3 separate regions of the Homo sapiens genome follow, and regions 2 and 3 are each linked to region 1. The links are contacts of gene promoters, found by promoter capture Hi-C in blood cells and fetal thymus (Javierre and others, 2016). All regions are on one chromosome and are shown on one strand. The core of a region is centred on a gene start or on the middle of the fragment in contact, and the rest is flanking DNA. Distances in the headings are between cores, read along the strand shown. Region 1 holds the start of C1orf220 (chromosome 1 putative open reading frame 220). Region 2 has its middle 3.1 kb from the start of MIR4424. Region 3 has its middle 20 kb from the start of MIR4424.

Region 1 (4,386 bases), core at 757-3,256:
AGATGCTCCTCCTTGCCACCCAGGGCCTGAGTCATACATCCATCTGCTGAGCTAAATATCTCTACTTGGATGTTTAAAAGGCACCTCAGCCTGAATTCATTCCAACTAGAACTCTTGATTCACACCCCCACGGAAAAACCCCATTCCTCCCCCGGGCTCATCTAGCTCAGTTCACGGCATTTCTCTTTCTGTAAAGCCGGGGAAGTGTGCAGTGGTGAAGTGCTGGGTCCAAATTCCAGCTTTTCCATTTGCTAATGGTGGGACTTTATGCAAACTGATTCAACTCTCTGGGCCTCGATTGCCTCTTCTGTAAAATGTGGGAAGAACTAATTCCTAATTCATAGGAGTGTTATGAAATCTAGACAGGTTAAACTATGTGAAGGGTTTAGAGGAGCGCCTGGCTAACCGTATTAGCCACTGTCATTCTTTTTCTTCCAGTTGCTCAGGACAAATCCTAAGAATGATGCTTATTTCTCTCTTTCCCTCATGCACCACACCCAAGCTCATCAGCAATTCCTGTCCATTCCACCTTCAGATACAGATCACAAATCTGACCTCCTCTCCCCATCTCTGTTGCTACCCTACTCGCCTGGGCCGCATGGTCACTTGTGGTGGTCTCCTAACTGCTCCCCTTGTGTCTACCATGGCCATCATCCCCACACCAGCTCTCCAGGTGGCAGCCAGAGTGATCTTACAAAACCGTAGGTCAGGTCATTGCCCCCTGTCAGACTCAAGCCCATCACAGCCCTTGCTATGCTGACAGGCCCATCCCACCCCAGCCCGCTCCCCCCACCACCTGCCCCCCTCCGCCACCTCACCTGTGCCTTCTGCACGCCTCTCCCACCACTCCCCCTCCCTCCCTTTACTCTGGCCACTCTGAATGTCACTGGTCCTCCTTGAGCCCTCCTGAGCCCTCTGCCCAGAGTAATGCCAGAGTGGAGGCCACAGCTGAAGGCAGAGGCTGTTGGCCTGGGGTGGAGAGGGGAGATTCCTCTGGGTGGAAGGTGACATTGGGCAGCCTTGGATGAAGTGAATACCTGGTGTGGGGAAGCAAAAATAAATAGAGAAACAAACGGATTAATTTTGCTTCTTTCCAGGGACTTGATTTTCTACAAGTGCTGCTCCAAGAGGCTTCTACACCCCCGCAGGGAGGCAAGCACCGTTTTGAGGTGGCCGGGCTGGCGAGGAGGTGCAGACCCCAGCCAGCTGGAGGGGCTCTGCCCTGATGGCGTTCCCACTCCCACCTCATTCGCAGGGCGCCGGGGAGGGCTGCAGGTGTTCTATTCCCACCCGGCTTGCAGCGCAAGGAGGGGAATCGCCTGACACCTTCCCCTTCTCCTCTGCCCCGCTTCCTTTCTCTGCTCCCACAGGTGGAAGTCACCAGCGGAAACAACCCTTCACTGTATGGAGGGCTGGGAGAGAGGGGCCAAGAGGGCCCCGGGAGAGCCACTGGGCGGCAGGCAAGGGGCGGGGCAGTCTCCCTTCCGGCTTCCGGGACCGAAGGGTGAAGGGCAAGGGGAGCTCAGGGAATGAACGAGTGCTCCCGACTAATGTTTAACCCACGACTCCGAGACTCCGACTGGTCACAGTCCTGCAGACCTCCAGGTCCTGCACAGGCGACGCAGCGCTCCACTGGCCCGGAATGCGCACCCCGGGGGAAATGGAAAGTGCCATTGAAATGTCAGATGTCACCGTCTTCATCAGCACTCTTGGAATTTTGGCCAAAGTGGCTTCTTCTTTTGCTGAGACTTGACTCACTCCCGGCAGAGGGATGATAGCGGCCTTGCCCCGAGCGTTTATCCGGCTGCAGGCGTCATTCTTGGTCGCCTGTGTGTCCAGAGCCCCAGCGCAGGAAGGGAGCGCAATTCCCACCGCGCCCGCTGGGTGGCGCTAGCGCCGCACCGTGTCCCGGGATGAGGGGAAACCGCGCTGCCCAGTCAGTACCCCGACGCCCCCGCGCCCCCGCCGGGCCCCGCGCGCTGCAGCCACCGCCTCTTCTCGGCTTCCTCTTGCTTTACAGTAACTCTCCTCCTGGGGAAAAGGCTTTTCACGGAGCAGGCTCGGAGCCTACGGGGCTGGCCTCGGACTGGATGGGGGTAAGGACGGGTGGCGGCGCTCGCGCCGAGCGAACGGAGGGCTCAGGCGGCCGGTGATCAGGGACGGGCTGCGGCCGCCGTCTGGGGTGAGAGGCCCACCCAGAGCTCTGGGCCAGGGCTCGCGGCTCTCGTGCAGATGCTGGGCCGGGAGGTGTGGGGAGGGGGCTTCCCAGGCGGGGCAACCGGAGGGGAATGGGGTGTGCAGGAGGGAGGGGAGGCGTGGAGCGCCCGGCCTGCAGGCACTGGGCGGCGCTCTCCAGCCTCCTCTTCTCCCGCCGGGTGCCTGGTGGCTTGGCCTCCCCTCCAGAGCTTCGCATATCCTGGCGGGAGCCGGCGCTCTCTCTCCATACTTAGGACTTGACCCTTATTCCACACCCGGGCAGGGAATCATTTGCCCAATCCGAATTTGATTTTCTGCTTGTGAGAGGAGAAACTGGTGACAGTGTCGCATGGACACTGTCGGGGAAGCCGAGACGTAGACCTGGAAGCCTGTACCAGAGGCCTTGTGGACAGCTTTGGAGCATGCATCTTAAGGCACACCACCGGTTTCTGCTGCTTTGGCACAGCCACGCAGCACCTAGGATGCTTCTCTGCACGCAGCAGAGGCCTAATCCGTGCACCCTCTGACGGTGTTGGAGGGAGCTGGGGAGCAACATCAGATTAATAGCCCCTGGGCTATTTGTATGACGTGCAGATTTCACCCTCTCATTCTTAAAGGGTGAAAGGCTGCAATTCAGAAAGGCGAAGATGGGGCCCAGGAATCTGCAATCTGCGTGGGGTTTTTTTTTTTTTTATGAAGTCTTGTTCTGTCGCTCAGGTTGGGGTGCAGTGGCGCGATCTGTGCTCACCGCAACCTGTCTTCCAGGTTCAAGCGATTATCCTGCCTCAGCCTTCTGAGTAGCTGGGACTACAGGTGCATGACACCACACCTGGCTAATTTTTGTATTTTTAGTAGAGATGGGGTTTCACCATGTTCGCCAGGCTGGTCTTGAACTCCTGACCTCAAGTGATACGCCCACCTTGGCCTCCCAACGTGCTGGGATTACAGGCATGAGCCACCGCGCCTGGCCAGAGTTTGCATTTTGTTGTTGTCGTTTGTTTGTTTGAGACGGAGTCTCGCTCTGTGGCCCAGGCTGGAGTGCAGTGGCGCCATCTCGACTCACTGCAACCTCTGCTTCCCAGGTTCAAGCGATTCTCCTGCCTCAATCTCCCAAGTAGCGGGGATTAACAGGCGTGCCACCACCATGCCTGGCTAAATTTTTTATTCTTAGTAGAGACAGGGTTTCTCACGTTGGGCAGGCTGGTCTCAAGCTCCTGATCTGCCCGCCTTGGCCTCCCAGAGTGCTGGGATTACAGGTGTGAGCCACCGCGCCTGGCCTGTTTTGTTTTCCTAAATCCAGAAGTTCTGATTCAAGCCTAAACCTGCCACTTCCATTCCCAATCCTCTGAGCTTCATGAGCTCCAGACACAGGGCTGTTAATCACAATTTCTTTAATTCTTTATATCTCTTGTGGAATTAGAGGAGTAGATGTTCTTTCTTTTTGGGAAAAACATTAGAAAATGCCTACATGTCTTTATTGAAAGAACTTAAAAACAATGTATTTCTCTAGGGTTTATTTTCCCTCACGGCTCTCAACCTTCTCAAAATATAAGGTTGGCGGATTAATTATACTGAAAGTCTTCAGTTGGATATTTTATTATAGTATTTTTAAAGTCGTGTTTTGTAATTGCCCTGACAATGTAAGGAATGATATTTGTGAGGGTGAGTCAACAACACCTTCCCTGTTGGTGTCTGCCCTCTAATAACCCCACGGGCTGGATCCCCAGCACCTGGAAGGAATCATCATGGAACGTTAATAAGGAGGAAGGCTGGTTCTGGCGCCTGGAACACTTCAGAGACAGAAAGCAGTGACTAGGCCAGACAGGCCCGTTGTTTTTGCGCTTTGAGAGAGAAGTGAGAAATGGAAAGTAGTCTCTTTATCTTCTCAGCAAATACAGCCTATGCTCAGAATTTCTCCGACTTCCCATCTCTGAGATGCCGGATGCCCAGTTCCACAGAATCATGGCAAGCGAGAAACTGTCGTTCATAAGAGTTCAAGAAAATGAATATTCTCTCAACTCTGTGAGGGCCAGTGGGTTCCAGGCGAGATGAGACAACTTGGTGAGCGTCGTAACTGAGCTCCCAATGCATTTAGAAGCCTCTGGATGGCCGGGGGGTGCATTCCAGCTGTGCTGGAAAAATTATATTTTGAAGTTAAATCTGGTAGTGTTTTTTCCAATATGAATAGGC
Region 2 (4,610 bases), core at 301-2,800, 130 kb after region 1:
AGACACATGGGACCAGAGCCAATTAGAGGAATGAAAAGGAAAAAAGAATTTAAGAAGTGACAAAAGAATACAAGACCCATGGGACACCATTGAATAAATGTGTGCATTATGGAAGTCCCAGAAGAAGAGAAAAAGAGAAAGAGGTAGAAATCTTATTTAAAACAATAGTGGCTGAAAAGTTCCCAAATCTTGGGAGGGAAGTGGACATCAAGACTCATAAAATCTCAAAATTCCCAAGATCAATCCAAAGAAGACTATTCCAAGACATATGGTCAAATCATCAAAAATCAAACACAGAGAAAATTTTGAAAGCAGCAAGAGAAACTCTTCACATACAAGGGAAATCAATTAGGCTATCAGAGATTTCTCAGCAGATATATTCAAAGTGCTTAAAAAACAAAAACAAAATTAAAAAAAAAAAAGCATGCCAACCAAAATACTAAAGCCAGAAAAGCCATCCTTCAGAAATAAAGAAGAGATAAAGACATTCCCAGACAAAATGTAACAAAGCTCACCACTAAAACTGCCTTACAAAAAATGCTAAAGGGAGTTCTGCAAGTTGAAACAAAAGGATGCTAAGTAGCAACATAAAAATATATGAAAGCACAAAAGTCACTGGTAAAGGTAAATACATAGTCAAGTTCAGAATGCTCTAATACTATAATAGCAGTAGGTAAATCATTTTTACTTCTAGTATAAAAGTTAAAAAACAAAAATATGGCCAGGTACGGTGGCTCACGCCTGTAATCTCAGCATTTTGGGAGGCCGAGGCAGGCAGATCACCTGAGGTCAGGAGTTCAAGACTAGCATGGCCAACATGGTGAAACCTCATCTCTACTAAAAATACAAAAAATTAGCCAGGGGTGGCAGCACACGCCTGTAATCCCAGCTACTCAGGAGGCCAGGGCATGAGAATCACTTGAACTTGGGAGGCAGAGGTTGTAGTGAGCCAAGATTGCACCATTACACTCCAGCCTGGGCAACAAGAGTGAAACTCTGACTCAGAAAAAAAAAAAAAAAAGACAAAAATGTTTAAAATAACTATAGCTACAATAATTTGTTAATAGACGCAATAAAATGATGTTAAGTGTGACATCAGTAGCATAAAATGCAAGGTGGAAGAGAAGTAAAAATGTAAAGTATTTGTATGTAATTGAAGTTAATTTGTTATCAGGTTAAAATAGACCATTATAACTATAAAATATTTTATGTAATCCTCATGGCAACCAAAAAGAAAAAAAAATCTAGCAGATATATAATGGATAAAAGGGTACATAATCAAAGCATAGCACTACCAAAAAATTAAATCACAAAGAAAGACAATAAGAGAGAAAGAAAAGAACAAAGGAATTACAAAGCTGTCAGAAAACAATTAACAAATGGCAATAGTAAGTCTTTACCTATCAAGAATTACTTTAAATATAAAGGTTTAAATTCTCCAATCAAAAGACACAGAGTGGTTGAATAGATTTTAAAAATAAAACGAGGCCAGGTATGATGGCTCATGGCTGTAATCCCAGCACTTTGGTAGGCCAAGGCAGGCGGATCACCTGATGTCAGGAGTTTGAGACCAGCCTGACCAACATGGAGAAACCCCATCTCTACTAAAAATACAAAATTAGCTGGGCGTGGTGGCACATGCCTGTAATCCCAGCTACTCAGGAGACTGAGGCAGGAGAATGGCTTGAACCCGGGAAGCGGAGGTTGCAGTGAGCCGAGATCATGCCATTGTACTCCAGCCTGGGCAACAAGAGCAAAACTCCATCTCAAAAAATAAAAAAAAAAATTAAAAAATAAAACAAGACCAATAATATACTGACTACAATAGACTCACTTTAGCCTACATAGGCTAAAAGTGAATGGATGGGAAAATATATCCTTTGCAAATAGTAACCAAAAGAGAGCAGAAGTGGCTATACTTATATCAGCCAAAATAGACTTTCAGTCAAAATCTGTCACAAGAAACCAAGAAGGTCATTAAACAATGATAAAGGAGTCAATTCATCAAGAGAATATAAAAATTATAAATATATATGCACCCAATGTCAGAGAACCTAAACACATAAAGGAAATATTAACAAGACTAAAGAGAGAAATAGATAGCAATACAATAATAGGAGAATTCAGTATGCCACTGTTTTTTGTTTTTTTTTTTTAATTTTTTATTTTGAGACAGAGTCTTGCTCTGTCACCCAGGCTGGAGTGCAGTGGTGTGATCTCAGCTCACTGTAACCTCGGCCTCCCGAATTCAAGCAATTCTCATGCCTCAGCCTCCCAAGTAGCTGGGATTACAGAATTGTGCCACCATGCCCAGCTAATTTTGGTATTTTTAGTAGAGACAGGGTTTCACCATGTTGGCCAGGCTGGTCTCAAATTCCTGACCTCAGGTGATCTGCTTGCCTCGGCCTCTCAAAGTGCTGGGATTACAGGCATGAGCCACCATGCCTGGCCATATGCCACTTTCAACAATGGATAGATCATTCAGACAAAAAATCAATAAGGAAACAGTAGACTTGAATAATGCTATAAACCAAATGGACCTAACAGACACACATGGAACATTCCACTCAACAGCAGCAGATTTCACATTTTTCTCAAGAGCAATGGAATATTCTCTAGGATAGATCATATATTAGGCCATAGCACAAGTCTTAACAAATTAAAGAAGATTGAAATCACATCAAGTATCTTTCCTGAAATCAATAATATAGAACTATAAATTAATAACAAGGAAAATTGGAAAATTCACAAATAGTATTAATAGAAATTAAACAACATGCTCTTGAACAACCAGTGGGTCAAAGAAGATTTAAAAAACTGTCTTCAAACCAACAGAAATAGAAACATAACATACCAAACATGGGATGCAACAAAAGCAGTTCTAACAGAGGAATTTATAGAGATAAATACCTAAATTTTAAAAAGAAAGATCTCACAGCCAGGTGCAGTGGCTCATGCCTGTAACCCCAGCAGTTTGGGAGGTCGAGGTGGGCAGATCACTTGAGGTCAGGAGTTCATGGCCAACATGGTGAAACCCCATCCCTACTAAAAATACAAAAATTAGCCAGGCCTGGTGGCAGGCACCCTCAGGAGGCTGAGGCAGGAGAATTCCTTGAAGCCAGGAGGCAGAGGCTGCAGTGAGCTGAGACTGTGCGACTTTACTCTAGCCTGTGCAACAGAGTGAGACTCTGTCTCAAAAAAAAAAAAAGACAAACTAAGCCCAAAGTTAGCAGAAGGGAGAAAAATAACAAAAATTAGAGCAGAAGTAAATGAAATAGAGAACAGAAAGACAATTTAAAAGATCAAAGAAACTAAGAGTTGATTTTTTAAAAAGATAAACAAAATTGACAAACCTTTAGTAAACTAACCAAGAAAAAAAGAAAGATGACTCAAAAAATTACAATCAGAAATGACAAAAGAATAGTTACAACTGATACCACAAAAATACAAAAGATTAGGTGGATTCCACCAAACAGAGAAGAATAAACACCAATTCTTCTAAAACTTTTCTAAAAAAAAAAATCAAGAGGGAGGAACATTTCCAAACTCTTTTTACAAGGCCAGTATTACCCTTGCATCAAAGTTAGATAAGAACACTAAAAGAAAAGAAACTTACAGGCTTATACTGAACACAGATGGAAAAATTCTCAATAAAATTTTTGCAGGCTGAGGCCAGGCACAGTGGCTCACTTGGGGATGCCAAGGTGGGCAGATCACTTGAGGCCAAGAGTTTAGACCAGCCTGGCCAACATAGTGAAACCCGGTCTTTACTGAAAATACAAAAATTGGGCCAGGTGCGGTGACTCCCACCTGTAATCCCAGCACTTTGGGAGGCCGAGGTGGGTGGATCACCTGAAGTCAGGAGTTTGAGACTAGCCTGGCCAATATGGTGAAACCATGTCTCTACTAAAATTAGAAAAGTTAGCTGGGTGTGGTGGTGCACATCTGTAATCCCAGCTACTTGGGAGGCTGAAGCATGAGAATAGCTTGAGCCCAGGAGGCGGAGACTGCAGTGAGCCGAGATTGCATCACTACATTCCAGCCTGGGTGGCAGAGCAAGACTCTGTCTCAAAAAGCAAAACAAAACAAAAATTGGCTGGGCAAGGTGATGTATGCCTGAAGTCCCAGCTACTTGGGAGGTTGAGGCACAAGAATCACTTAAACCCGGGAGGCAGAGGTTGCAGTGAGCTGAGATTGCACAATGGCCCTCCAGCCCGGGTGACAGAGTGAGACTCTGTCTCAAAAAAAAATGTTAAATTAAAAAAATATATATTAACTGGCTGAATTCAACAGCACATTAAAAGGAGCATACACTATGATCAAGTGGAATTTATCCTTGGTATGTACGGATGGTTCAACATACACAAATCAATAAATGTAATAAACCACATTAACAGGATAAAGGTAAAAATCATATGATCATCTCAATTGATGCAGAGAAAGCATTTAACATCCTTTTATGATAAAAATTCTCTACAAATTAGGTATAGAAGGAAGGTACCTCAACATAATAAAGGCCATATATTACAAACACACAGGTAACATCATATTCACTGGTGGAAAACTGATAGCTTCCTTTCTAAGATCAAGAACAAGACAAGGATGCCTAC
Region 3 (4,130 bases), core at 763-3,262, 160 kb after region 1:
TAGATAGATAGATGATAGATAGATAGATAGGTAGATAGATAGATAGATAGATGATAGATAGATAGATAGATGATAGATAGATAGATGATAGATAGATAGATGATAGATAGATAGATAGATGATAGATAGATAGATGATAGATAGATAGATAGGTAGATAGATAGATGATAGATGATAGATAGATGATAGATAGATGATAGATAGATGATAGATAGATAGATAGATGATAGATAGATGATAGATGATAGATAGATAGATAGATAGATTAGATAGATAGAGTAGATAGATAAGATAGATAGATTGGTAGATTGGGCTGGGCGCAGTGGCTCACGGCTGTAATATTAACACTTTGGAAGGCAAGGCAGACGGATCACCTAAGGTCAGGAATTCAAGACAAGCCTGGCCAACATGGTGAAACCCTGTCTTCACTAAAAATACAAAAATTAGCCGGGCATGGTGACGCATGCCTGTAATCCCGGCTACTTGGGAGGCTGAGGCAGGAGAATCGCTTGAATCCAGGAGGCGGAGGTTGCAGTGAGCTGAGATTGTGAGCCACTGCACTCCAGCCTGGGCGACAGAGCCAGACTCCATCTCAAAAAACAAAAATGATAGATAGATTGACAGATAAGATAGAGTTATCCTTCACCTAACCTTCAACCTTCAAGTTTAAAAAATCAAATTTAACCTGTGAACCCCTTCCTATACTTCCTCTTCCTTTCTCCCACAGAGACAAGGACTGTCCTAAATTTTGTAAATAACATTCCTTTACTTTCCTTTATAGTTTTTATCCCTAAACACTACATTGTTTACTTTTGCATGTATTTGAACTTTCTACAAATGAGATCATGCAGTGGGTATTCATCTGTGACTTGCTCTTTTACCAAAATTATATTCCTCAGATTCATGCATATATTTGTAATTCATTGATTTTCACCACTGTATGGTATTTTGTTGTATGAAATATACCACTGTTGATTTATCCATTTTACTATTGATAAATACTTAGGTTGTTTCTTGGTTTTGGCTTTTGCAAATCATACCACTCTGATCTTTCTTGTGTGTGTCTCCTAGTACACATGTGTAAGTTTCTCTAAGGCATTAATATTTATCTAGCAGTGGAATTGCTAGGTTATAAGATACATGCCTCTTCAACCTTATTAGATAACACTAATAGTTTTCTAAAATTATTGTCCCAATTTGCATGCTTATTGGTTGTTTATGAGAGTTTCTTTCTGTTGCTCAATATACTTGTCAACACTTGGTATTATTATGTTTTTAGTTTTAGTCAAACTGGTTTCATAGCAGTGTCACATTGTAATCTTAACTTTCATCTTCCTGATTACTAATAAAGTTAAGCATCTTTTCATGTTTTTACTGAGCATTCAGGTTCCTTCTGTGAAGTTCCTATTCTAATGTTTTTCCCTTTTTTATATCAAGCTTTGTAAGAGTTGTTTACATTCTGATTATAAATTATTTGCTGTTATGTTTTACAGATTTGTTCTCCAAGTTTGTGGCTCGTCTTTAATGACCAGGGTTTCAAATATATATATAATTAAAAATATTAATTTTTTCTTTTGAGTTTGTGATTTTAAAGTCTGGTTCAAGAAATTCTTCCCTACACTGAGATTGTGAAGACATTACGTATTTATGTATTTATTTATTTTTTGAGACAGAGTCTCACTCTGTCACCCAGGCTGGAGTGCAATGGCATGATCTCGGCTCCCTGCAACCTCCGTCTCCTGGGTTCAAGCGATTCTCCTGTCTCAGCCTCCCGAGTAGCTGGGATTACAGGCGTTCGCCACCACTCCCGGCTGATTTTTGTATTTTAAGTAGAGATGACTTTTCGCCATGTTAGCCAGGCTGGTTTTGAACTCCCGACCTCAAGTGATCCATCCACCTCAGCCTCCCAAAGTGATGGGATTAAAGGTGTGAGCCACTGCGCCTAGCCTATCCTATATTATTTTCTATAAGTTGTATAGTTTTGCCTTTTACTTTTAAGTATATAATCCACCTGGAATTGATTAGGGGGGTGGGGTACGGTATGAGGTAGAGGTCCAAATTAATTATTCCCTTATGGGTAAACAATTGTCCCAGTACCACTTATTGATTTCCCATGACCTGCACTGACAGTGCTGACATAATTCAGTTTTTCACATCTATGTGGATCTGTTTATAGGTTCTTTATTCTATTTTATTGGCCAATTTTTCTATTCCCAAACTAACACCACACTCCTAATTACTTCGGCTTCATAATAAGTCTTGCTATCTTATAAGGCAGTTACCCTGCCCTACCTCCAACTATGTTTTTCTTCAGACTATTCTTGGCCACTAGTTCCTGTATATATATTTTTAAATTAGCTTATTAAATTCCAAAACAAAAAAAAAAAAACCCTGTGTTGTCATTTTGATTGAAATTACATTGAATTTTTAGAATAATTTGGGTAGAACTTACATGCTTATGAAATTGGGACTTCTAAAACATAAAATAGTATGTCTTTCCATTTTTATAGGCCATCTTTAATTATTTCAATAAACTTAAAGACAATTTTTGATATATATTACACACTTCTCTTGTTACATTTATTTGTAAGCTTTTTTTTTTGGCTTAAACAATAGACATTTATTCCTCACAGTTCTGCAGGCTAGGAGTCTGAGATGAGGATGTCATGACCTTTATTTTTTATGCTTTTTTTTTTTTTTTTTTTTTGAGGTGAGGTCTTGCTCTGTCACCCAGGCTGGAATGCAATGGCATGATTTTGGCTCACTGCAGCCTCCACCTCCCAAGTTCAAGCGATGCTCCTGCCTCAGCCTCCCGAGCAGCTGGGATTACAGGTGCCCACCACCACACCTGGCTAATTTTTGTATTTTTTAGTAGAGATGGAGTTTCACCATGTTGGCCAGGCTGGTCTCGAACTTCTGACCTCAAGTGATCCACCTGCCTTGGCCTCCCAAAGTGTTGGGATTACAGGCGTGAGCCACTGCACCTGGCCAGTTTAGGGCTTCTAAGTAGAATTGAAGCCACAGAACTCTCAAAGCCTAGACTCAGAAATCACACAGGTAACTTCCATTGTATTCTGTTGGTCAAAGCAAATCACTAGGAAAGCTCACTTTCAAGGGGAACAGAAATAGAGTGAACCTCTTGATGTGAGGAGAAATAAAATACTTCACATGTTTCTCTAAATGATAACATAGCCTGTCTTTTCTTGACTTGCTGAAATTATGATCATGGATGAACATTGAATTTTATCCAAATCTTTTTCTTTATTTTTAGAATAATCATGAGATTATTCTCATTTTTTCTGTTGATGTGGTGAATTATATTAATCAATTTTCTAATGTTAAGGTATCTTATATTTCAGGGATAAATTCAACCTGCTGGAGTCAGTTATGAATAATTTGTTTAGTATTATATTTTTGCCACTGTGTTCATAATTGAGACTGAGCTTTTTGTTTCTTGTTCTGTCCTTACTAGTTTTGATTCCAAGGTTATGTTAGCCAAACATCATAAATTATTCTCTCCTTTGCTGTAACCTAGAATAAGTTTTGTTTTTGTTTTTGTTTTAAAGGAGTCTCGCTCTGTCGCCCAAGCTGGAGTGCATTGGCATGATGTTGGCTCACTGCAACCTCCACCTCCTGGGTTCCAGCAATTCTCCTGCCTCGGCCTCACAAGTAGCTGGGATTACAGGCATGCGTCACCATGCCCAGCTAATTTTTGCATTTTTTAGTACAGACGGAGTTTCACCACATTGGCCAGACTGGTCTCCAACTCCTGACCTTGTGATCCGCCCACCTTGGCCTCCCAAAGTGCTGGTATTACAGGTGTGAGCCACCATGCCAAGCCTAGAATAAGTTTTTAAATATTGAAATGATGTGTTCCTTGAATGTATGGTAGAAATGGCAGCAAAGCTGGTGGAGGTAGTGGTGATGGCATGTTTGCTTTGGTTTGGTTTAGTTGGAAGATTTCTAAGTATTTATTTTTTAAAATTGTAGACTTAGTTTTCTTGTATCTTCTTGAGGAAGTTTTAAGTTATACTCTCCAAGAAATGTTTCCATTTTACTGAAGTTTTCAAATCTCTTGGCATGTTCATTGTTCAGGGTATTCTCTCACCTTTTAGTGTCTGCAATATCTA

Evidence for each region. Contacts are between HindIII fragments. The CHiCAGO score rates a contact against its expected background, and 5 or more counts as called.
Region 2: a fragment that was not itself captured here is called in contact with the fragment with the promoter of C1orf220 in region 1 in 2 of 17 cell types (total B cells and naive B cells); the score reaches 9.8 in total B cells.
Region 3: a fragment that was not itself captured here is called in contact with the fragment with the promoter of C1orf220 in region 1 in 3 of 17 cell types (total B cells, naive B cells and endothelial precursors); the score reaches 22.5 in total B cells.

The regions. Positions count from the first base shown.
Region 1 is chr1:178,540,790-178,545,175 of GRCh38, forward strand. It overlaps C1orf220 (chromosome 1 putative open reading frame 220), which reads left to right and starts at 2,007. Exons shown (of 3, transcript NR_033186.1): 1 at 2,007-2,096. It overlaps LOC124904460 (a long non-coding RNA gene), which reads right to left and starts at 1,856. Exons shown (of 2, transcript XR_007066748.1): 1 at 1,245-1,856; 2 at 1-1,037. RefSeq lists an enhancer at 1,702-1,761 and silencers at 1,812-2,141, 2,172-2,241. The HindIII fragment of the contact is 17,585 bases long and covers 1-4,386 here.
Region 2 is chr1:178,672,310-178,676,919 of GRCh38, forward strand. No RefSeq gene overlaps it. Among named protein-coding and RNA genes, the nearest start is that of MIR4424, 3.1 kb to the right of the region's middle. The HindIII fragment of the contact is 9,920 bases long and covers 1-4,610 here.
Region 3 is chr1:178,696,092-178,700,221 of GRCh38, forward strand. No RefSeq gene overlaps it. Among named protein-coding and RNA genes, the nearest start is that of MIR4424, 20 kb to the left of the region's middle. The HindIII fragment of the contact is 1,154 bases long and covers 1,436-2,589 here.